2 separate regions of the Homo sapiens genome follow, and region 2 is linked to region 1. Evidence: promoter capture Hi-C in 16 types of primary human blood cells and fetal thymus (Javierre and others, 2016). All regions are on one chromosome and are shown on one strand. The core of a region is centred on a gene start or on the middle of the fragment in contact, and the rest is flanking DNA. Distances in the headings are between cores, read along the strand shown. Region 1 holds the start of IMMT (inner membrane mitochondrial protein). Region 2 overlaps USP39 (ubiquitin specific peptidase 39).

Region 1 (4,959 bases), core at 436-2,935:
TGTTAGAAAAGTCATCACACGGGCACCACATGACTGAAGCAGGATGAAAGCGTTCACTGGCATTAAGAAGTTCAAAGACAAGGGTGTTAGAAAAGTCATCACACCGGCACCACTGGGCATGACAGCAGTGGGCAGGGAGGCAGCAATTCAATTGCTAAAATTACTAAAGAAAACGGGAGACTGCTCTGGAAGCTAAGTGAAAGAGATATGAAACATATGTAATTACTGTAGTCCCCTAAAAACCATAGAACATAGAACATATACAAACATAACTATTGCTTTCAGATAATTTTCAAGTCCATCTCTCCATGCTACAAGTCATAGCGCAGTCTACCTCTAGAGAGAATACATATTGTAATAAATTACCCAGTTAAGACTTGGAATACTTTGCAAATCCAATAGAAGATAGAAAAGTTAGTTTCCACGATATTGCAATAAGATGCTAATAGTATTAATACGAACATATTAATTCTGGAGTATACATGGAGTATTAATACCATGCTTAATATTTAACGTGTTTTATTTTGATTACAGAATCAATGGAATACTTTTGTTTTTTGAGACAGAGTTTCGCTCTTGTTGCCCAGGCTGGAGTGCAATGGCGTGATCTCGGCTCACTGCAACCTCCGCCTCCCGGGCTCAAGCAATTCTCCTGCCTCAGCCTCCCGAGTAGCTGGGATTACAGGCACCCGCCACCATGCCCAGCTAATTTTTTGTATTTTTAGTAAAGACGGGGTTTCACTATTTTGGCCAGGCTGGTCTCGAATTCCTGACCTCAGGCGATCCACCCGCCTTGGCCTCCCAAAGTGCTGGGATTACAGGCGTGAGTCATAGCTCCTGGCCCTACTTTTCTTTTTAAATTTTTTGTTTGTTTATTTTTCTATATAGAGACGAGGTCTCACTGTGTTGCCCAGCCTGGTATCGAACCTCTGGGCTCAAGCGATCCTCCCGCTTCGGCCTCCCGAAGTACTGGGATTACAAGCGTGAGCCACCGCGCCCTGCCCAGTGGAATACTTTCAACGGTGCTTCTGCATTGACTTCCCATCTTCCAACCCATCCACAAACTGCAGCCAAAATGATGTTACTACAGTAACAACTTGGAGAAAGCAGTGTGGCTTAATCTGGAAGGAGCAGAAGCTGTGGAGTCCAAAGGACCCGTGTTCCTATCCTTGTTGTGCCACTTGACACGTTTAGCACAAGGGTCCCCACAGTGTTAGTTCACCGTCTCCAGCAATCACTATGACTCCCTGGAGGGCTGTCAAACGAAACAAAGGCGCAAACTGAGACAATTCCATTGTTTACGTAACTTTCGCCAAATCGGCTCCTTCCTACGAAATATCCAGCTCATAGAGCAGGCTGAGATGCTTTGTTGCTTTAATTCTCTTTAAGAGTCACAGCTGTCCATTTTCCACGTGCGGCTGAAGAATGGATTTCAGAGCGCTCTCCCTCCGGCAGTGTTCACCTAGTAACCCCTTCCGGATAAGGACCTGCAGCCCGGGCGCGACCCGGAAAGGGAATCCGCCCTTTTCGCCTCCTTCGCGCCAATCGCCTGGAGTTGGCGTTTCCGCAGCCGGGACACAGCCCACCCTCTAAGAGCCGCGGAGTCGGGGACGGTAGAAGGGGCCGCGCGTGCGCAGTGGCGTCCGCTGTGCTTCCGGTGCGCCGGGCGCGGACGCGGGCACGCACACACGCAAGCACGCCTCCACTTAACTCGCGCCGCCGCGGCAGCTCGAGTCCACCAGCAGCGCCGTCCGCTTGACCGAGATGCTGCGGGCCTGTCAGTTATCGGGTGTGACCGCCGCCGCCCAGGTGAGCACTGGGGCTCCCGGAGGCGCGTGAGGAGGCTGAACTAGAACCGTCAGCGAAAAACGGGGGAGCCTTGGTCGCTGCCTAGCCTCCAGGACAAAGGCGAGCCTCAGGGCCACCCTCGTCGGGAGAGGCCCGGGCGGGCAGCTAGGCAGCCACCAGGGAGTTCGCCGGACTGGGATGACTTGAGGTTATTGCAGCAGCGGGGTGGGGTGTGGAGAGTAGCGGGAGGCGCGGCTTCGTGGGCATGTAGTCCAATCAGGGCCGCGCTGCCCCCGTCCAGGACCAATCCTGGCTGCTGGCGTCTGGGTCGCCGGTTGGGCGCGCGATAGGTTTTCAGTGCTGAAGGTCGACGGGCGAGAACTACAGTTCCCGTCAGGACGAGCGGAGCGGCGGCTTGTTGCATCCTTAATAAGGAGGTGCCTGGACTTCTAGCGAGAGTCCACATTTTAGGGGTCAAGGTTGTAATTATCTGGGAGGGAGTGCCTTTCTTTTCGCAGCTGAGAACACTTCTGAGTTATTCTTAATCCAAACAAAAGCGAAAGATTTTCATTTGTGGAGCTGAAACTCCTGGTCTTCAAGGAAAGACAGGAGTCATGACCTTGTGGCTCATTTCTGAGATTAGGGCAGGGATCTGTGTCTCCAGGCGCTGGGACTACTTTGACATTCAAGGAGCCTAAATACCCAGTTACTTCTAGTTTTGCGTAATTGCCAAAGTTACTTTCTAAAATTGAAAATTAAAAAGCCTGTTTCCACTGCTCATGATTTTCAGGAAGTTGATATTTTGGCAAAATGTAGATAGCAAACCAAGTACTGTGACTCAAGCAGTAATTGAACAGAATCCCTAGGAATAGTGAGTTAGAGATCATAAAAGTCAAGCTTTGTTTTTTCAAGTTCGCTTCTCTTCCTATTTGCTGCTAGGTAACAGAAGCAGCCCCTTCCATAGGAAAGTGGAACGAACCTGTGTTAGTTTTCTATTGCTGCGTAACAAATACCACAAATTTAGCAGCTTAAAACAACACCCATGAATGACCTTACGGGTTCTGTAGGATAGAAGTCTGGGCACGGATGATCTGTGTTCTCCGCTCCAGGTCACATAAGGCTGCAAAGTATTAGCCATGCTGTGGTTCTCATTTGGAGATCAGGGTCCTCTTCCAGGCTCATGCAGTTTGTTGGCAGAATTCAGTCCCTTGCAGTTACAGGACTGAAGTACTTCTTTTCTTGCTGCCTCTTGCCAGCCACTGCTCCCAGCTTCTACAGCCTGCCTACAGTTCCTTGCCTCAAGGCCTCTAGAGGCCATTCATAACATTGATGTTTGCTTTCGTGCAGGCTACCAGGAGCTTGCCTCTCTGACTTCCAAATTTCTTTTACTTTGGTCTTTCCTCTCTAGACCCAGATTTAAAAGGCTTATGTGATTAGACCAGGCCCACCTGGATGACCTCCTTTTCAGTTAATTCAGAGTCAACTTTTTGGGATCCCATTTGGGAATTAAGAAAACTAATTAAAACTTGGTAATAAAAAATGAACCCTTTTATAGCTCTGAATCAAGATGTCTAAGCTTCTTGAAATTGCTGTCTTGTAAAATTCTTTGGTTTATTCTCACCATCTCCTTAATTCTGTAGCATTTGACATTGCTGCTTTATGAGGCTCTTTGTACTTTTGGCTTCTCTCAAGTAATATTTTGGGTCCCATCTCTCTTGTTTTCCTTTACTGAGTCTGCTTCTGCTTTGTACCTCGAAATATACACCTTCTCATCTCTTCCTGTCTCTTTATAGACTCTCTAATTTGAGATTACATCAACTCTCAGAACTTTAATCCCCAAGCAGGTGACTCTCTAGCCTCGTCGTATTTGATTGTATCAACGTATCCAGAATATCTCACTTGTCAAGATCCTTTCCACTTTATTAAACCCCATCTTTCTTTTTTTTTTTTTGGATACGGAGTCTCACTTTGTCACCCAGGCTGGAGTGCAGTGGCACAGTCATGGCTCACTGCAGCCTTGACCTCCTGAGCGCAAGCAATCCTCTTACCTCAGCCTCCTGAGTAGCTGGGACCACAGGCATGTGCCACCATCCCTGGCTAATTTTTTAAAAAATTTTTGTAGAGACGGAGTCTCTCTGTGTTGGCCAGGCTGGTCTCGAACTCCTGGGCTCAAATGATCCTCCCACTTCTGCCTCCCAAAATGCTGGGAATATAGGCACGAGCCACCGTGCCCAGCCAACCCCATCTTCTTAAATGTCTTACTGCTTTTACTGTTCCCTCCTAGAGTCCATTCTTTACTCTAGGAGGGAATAGTAAAAGCAGTAAGACATTTAGTAAAAGGCTTTTTAAAAGGCAAACATGAGGTCATGCTCTTTGGAGACATCGCATCACATTCAAAATAAAATCTAAACTGCTTACCATGGGCCCTTGATCTGACTCTTCTCATATTTCATTTTTCTACTGCCTCACTCAGATTCTCCTGGTAATCTCCAGCATGTGCCTCACTGCCTTTTCATCAGGTGTTTCTTTTGCCCTGAACTCTTCTCACAGGTTTGCTTAACTTATTCCCTTCAGTTAATTTCTCAAATGTCACCTTCCCTTCAGAGAGGGCATCCTGATCCAAAATAGAATTCTGACTACTCTTGCCTTCCTTGTATCACTATATCTTTACCCCATCCTACTTTGTTATACTTTGTAGCTCCTAGCACTACCTGATGTTATAATGTGTATTTATTACACAGTTTCCACCTTTAAAAAGTAAGCTCCACAATGGAACTGTGTCCATATTTACTGCTGTATTTCCAGTATTAACAATAGTCCCTGGCTCCAAGTAGATGCTCAGTGAATGTTTATGACATATATAAATGAAAGAATGAATGTGTTCATGAATTTTTTTTTAATTTAAAAAGATTTTTTAGAGATGGGGTCTCATTATGTTTCCCAGGCTGGTCTTCAGCTTCTGGGCTCAAGTGATATGCCCACCTCGGCCTCCCAAAGTGGAATTTTTCTTAATCTGTGTAAGTGGATGTGACCTCCCTTTAAACATCCCATAGATTTTCAAACCTCTGATTATATATTCAGATTCTCCAGAGAAACAGAAACAATAAGGGTGTGTGTGTGTGTGTAGAGATAGGGTCTCATTCTGTTGCCCAGGCTGGAGTACAGCAGTGT
Region 2 (4,907 bases), core at 1,965-4,464, 560 kb after region 1:
GCCGGGCCTGGTGGCTCACACCTATAATCCTATCACTGTAGGAGGCCGAGGCAGGGGGATCATTTCAGCACAGGAGTTCGAGACCAGCCTTGACAACATGGTGAAACCCCATCTCTACTAAAAAGGAAAAAGAAAAAAAAAGAAAAAAAAAATATATATATATATATGTAAAGAAAGAAAACTAACCAGGCACGGTGGCTCATGCCTGTAATCCCAACACTTTGAGAGGCTGAGGCAGGCAGATCACTTGAGGCCAGGAGATCGAGACCAGCCTGGCCAACAGGGTGAAACCGCATCTCTACTAAAAATACAAACATTAGCTGGGCATGGTGGCATGTACCTGTAGTCCCAGCTACTCGGGAGGCTGAGGCAGAAGAATCGCTTGAACCCGGGAGGTGGAGGTTGCAGTGAGCTGAGATCACACCACTGCACTCCAGCCTAGGCAACAGAGTGAGACTCCATCTCAAAAAAAAAAAAAAAGTATGTCTCCCCACTTTTTGGAGTTTCTCCTCTCCTAAATGACCTTCCTTTCTCTATACTACCCCAGAGGCAGGCAGAAAGCTGAAAACAGGATATATGAGAAGTACAAGAGGGGGCACTGTGGTTGGGCAGTGGTTCACATCTGTAATCCCAACACTTTGGGAGGTCGAGGTGGGAGGATCCCTTGAGGCCAGGAGTTAAAGAATGGCCTGGGCAACAAAGTGAGCACTCTCTCTACAAAAATACTTAGTTGGATGTGGTGGAGTGTGTCTAGTCCCAGCTACTTAGGATGCTGAGGTGAGAGGATCACTTGAGCCCAGGAGTTTGAGGCTGCAGTGAGCCATGATCACGCCACCATGATCACCCAGACTAGGTGATAAAGCTAGACCCTGTCTCAAAAAATAATAAAAAGGGGCACTATAAGTTAAGAGTTGGGGGTGACCAGTGAGAAATACCAACGAGTCTGGGAGGCTCAATAAAGTCAATATAATTTATAATAAATACGTCACATACATGTGGTGATTCTTACATATAAAATGAAAATGGGCCAGGTGTGGTGGCCCACGCCTGTAATCCCAGCACTTTGGGAGGCGAGGCAGGCTGATCACTTGAGGTCAAGAGTTCGAGACCAACCTGGCCAACATGCTGTCTCTACTAAAAATATAAAAAATTAGCCAGTCATGGTGGCGGATGTCTGTAATCCCAGCTACTAGGAAGGCTGAGGCAGGAGAATCGCTTGAAACTGGGAGGTAGAGATTGCAGTCAGCCGAAATCACGCCACTGCACTCCAGCCTGGGCGACAAGAGCAAAACTCTGTCTTGAAAAAAAAAAAAAAAAGAAAATGAAAAAGTCGAGAGAGCGAGGGTAAGTATAGGCAGGGCAGGTGTGTTAATGGGCTACCTTCTCAGTGATGCCATTGAACTTAGCCAGGATGTTGAAGAGTGGCACTTGGGGAATGATGAGCTGCTCCTTCTCGTCCTTGTAGAGGGGGGCAGTAGGAAGGTCCAGCGTCAGGTACATAAAAGTGGACTCCACCATTGTCTCCTGGTACTCGTCATTATGGAGCAACTGCTCTTTTTCTTCTGCTGGCTAGAAATGAATGAGAAGAAAAGAGAGGAAAGGAGTGTGACGGGTATAGGAACCAACACAGAACCGATGTTTTACCACGCCGACATTTCCTTCATCTGAAAGAACAAAGAGAAGTGCCCGAGAGATTGGGCAGTTTGGCATGCACCACCTGGTTAGATTAACTTAAGAACCAACAGGTTTCCTTCTTTAAAGATATTTTGCTTATATACCAGACTATCTAAAAAGCCCTGAGGCCAAGTGTGATGGCTCACGGCTGTAATCTCAACACTTTGGGAACAAAGGTGAGAGGACTGCTTGAGTCCAGGACTTCCAGACCAGCCTGGGCAACACAGTGAGACTCCATCTCTACAAAAAAAAAAAAAAATTGGCCGGGCATGATGGCTCACACCTGTAATCCCAGCACTTTGGGAGGCCGAGGCAGGTAGATCACCTGAGGTCAGGAGTCCAAGACCAACGTGACCAACACGGAGAAACCCCGTCTCTACTAAAAATACAAAATAAGCCGGGCGTGGTGGTGGCGCCTGTAATCCTAGCTACTCGGGAGGCTGAGGCAGGAGAATCACCTGAACTCGGGAGGCGGAGGTTGCGGTGAGCCGAGATAGTGCCATTGCACTCCAGCCTGGGCAACAAGAGTGAAACTCCGTCTCAATAAAATAAATAAATTAATTAATTAATTAAATTAAACAAAAATAAAAATAAAAATTAGCCCGGTGTGGTGGTGTGTATCTATGGTCCCAGTTTCTGGGGAGGTTGAGGTGGGAGGATCACTTCAGCAAGGGAGGTTGAGGTTGCAGTGAACCATAATCACGCCACCACACTCAGCCTGAGTGACAGAGATCTTGTCTCAAAAAGGAAAAAAAATCCATTAAAAAAAGAAAGTGGGCCGAGCACGGTGGCTCATGTCTGTAATCCCAGCACTTTGGGAGGCCAAGGGAGGTGGATCACCTAAGGTCAGGAGTTTGAGACCATCCTGACCAACATGGTAAAACCTCTTCTCTACTAAAAATAGAAAAATTAGCCAGGCATAGTGGCGCATGCCTGTAATCCCAGCTACTTCGGAGGCTGAGGCAGGAGAATGGTTTGAACCTGGGAGGTGGAGGTTGCAGTGAGCTGAGATCATGCCATTGCACTCCAGACTGGTCAACAAGAGCAAAACTCCATCTCAAAAAAGAAAAGCTCTAAGACCATCTAGGAAGCTTAGCTGAGGGCCAGGCACGGTGACTCACGCCTGTAATCCCAGCACTTTGGGAGGCCGAGGCAGGTAGATCACCTGAGGTCAGGAGTTCGAGACCAGCCTGGACCAACATGGTGAAGCCCCGTCACAACTAAAAATACAAAATTAGCTGGGCGTGGTGGCAAGCGCCTGTAATCACAGCCACTCAGGAGGCTAAGGCAGGAGAATCGCTTGAACCCAGGAGGTAGAGGTTGCAGTGAGCTGAGATGGCGCCACTGCAACTCCAGCCTTGGCGACAGAGGGAGACTAAGAAAAACAAAAAGAAAGCTTAGCTGAGCTTTCTGAAAAAACACAGCAGCACCACCTAGTGGCCAGAACACTTAAACCAGCACAGTACATCCAACCACTAACTCCCAAACTGAAAAAGTGCACTAGTATGACAGGGACCAGGCAGAGCTGCCACTAGGCAGGTGCTTTGTTGAACCTCTTCACAGGGCAAGCAGGCTTGTCAGTTCTCTGAGCATCTCTTCATCTCCCCTACGTCCCCTCAAGCAATATGAATCAGTCCAAGACCCAGGCTCAATTAACTCACCAGATCAGGATGGGGAAGCTTTTTAGTGAAGATCCTCATGGACCCCTGGAAAACATCAGTCACAATAGCTGCACAAACAGGAAGCAAGAGACAAATTCCGTGAGGATGGAAAACATGTCTGAAGTATATTTCCAGCTTCTAAATTTCTGAAATAAACCAGCATCTTCCAGCAAAAGACACAGAGCTCTCACTAAACACAGAAGTTTCCTTTTGTACTATATACCACCAGGGTACCTTTATAATTATTTGTGTAAATAATTACTTTATTTCTCTTAAGACAACTTTTTATCCTCCATCACAGGGCCTGGTCCATAAAAGAAAAGGTAAATGTGTTCAAAATGAAGGAATGGTGATACATGAATTACAAAAAAATTCACAAGCAAAACAAGGTACAGCCAAGGAACTTCCCATAACCATAAGCTACTTTCAAAGGGAGACAATGTCCAAACTGTAATGAAGACAAGAGGACAATGACAGACTAAGAGATGGGCCAGAACAGGATCAAAGCAACAAGAGAGAAAGCACAACCAAGTTCTAGAACCCTGCCAAGACGCAAGTTAGAGAGCTCAGAGGGTTAACACAGGCTGAAGACACCTGGTAGAGAGGGCAGGGCCATCCAGTGGGAAAAGCAACAGGCCACAATCCCACATCAAGACACCATCACATCTATAATCCTAGCACTTTGGGCAGATCACCTGAGGTCAGGAGTTTGAGACCAGCCTGGCCAACATGGAGAAATCCCATCTCTACTAAAAATACAAAAATCAGCTGGGCGTGGTAGTGGGTGCCTGTAATCCCAGCTACCCTTGGGAGACTGAGGGAGAAGAACTGCTTGAACCTGGGAGATGGAGGCTACAGTGAGCTGAGACCGTGCCACTGCATAGCCTAGGTGACAGAGCAAGACTCTGTCTCAAAATATATATATAATAAAATATCATTGGGACTATAACCATATTCTAGCAAAAACTATGGAGAGGGGCCTATTCAGAAAGAACATGTAGTTTATCTATAACATAGATACTAGCCTACCCCAGATAAACAGTTAACAAAAGAATGGGAAGTTGCCTCAGCCTCCCAAGTCGCTGGGACTACAGGCACATCCCACCACACCTGAATAACTTTTGTATTTTTGGTAGAGATGGGGTTTCGCCATGTTGGCCAGGCCGGTCTCAAACTCCTGACCTCAGGTAATCCACCCACCTCGGCCTCTCAAAGAGCTGGGATTATAGGCATGAGCCATTGCGACCGACCGCAAAGTTTTTTAAAAGGGAACAAAATAACTCCTTTTTATAAGTAAATGACTTACTCTTCTTTTTCTTCTTTGTGCCCCCCAGAGCTGAGTGCAGAGCATTCAGAAACCAAGACAGAAAGTCAACGCCATCTCCTGGAAAAAAAGGAAGGGTGGAAAACGTTGAAGCTAAGTGGCATTAGAGTTAACTTAAACCATGCACTGGTTGGCATTCCTGGTTCTCCCCCTTCCTCTCTGGCCATGCCATCCCATCCCAACTGCCGTGCATCCTCCTCTATCTTATCATTAAATGCTGGCACTCCTCAAGGTCAAGCTCTCACTCC

What was found. Contacts are between HindIII fragments. The CHiCAGO score rates a contact against its expected background, and 5 or more counts as called.
Region 2: a contact is called between a fragment that was not itself captured here and the fragment with the promoter of IMMT in region 1, in 5 of 17 cell types (fetal thymus, total B cells, total CD8 T cells and 2 more). The highest score is 8.9, in fetal thymus.

The regions. Positions count from the first base shown.
Region 1 is chr2:86,192,188-86,197,146 of GRCh38, reverse strand. It overlaps IMMT (inner membrane mitochondrial protein), which reads left to right and starts at 1,685. Exons shown (of 15, transcript NM_006839.3): 1 at 1,685-1,809. The coding sequence starts at 1,765. MIR4779 (microRNA 4779) reads left to right here and starts at 4,039; the gene lies at 4,039-4,121. RefSeq lists enhancers at 1,695-1,814, 1,835-2,014, 2,135-2,184. The HindIII fragment of the contact is 5,542 bases long and covers 1-2,687 here.
Region 2 is chr2:85,635,865-85,640,771 of GRCh38, reverse strand. USP39 (ubiquitin specific peptidase 39) reads right to left here. Exons shown (of 13, transcript NM_006590.4): 7 at 4,642-4,719; 8 at 3,336-3,403; 9 at 1,381-1,569. Among named protein-coding and RNA genes, the nearest start is that of USP39, 22 kb to the right of the region's middle. The HindIII fragment of the contact is 283 bases long and covers 3,073-3,355 here.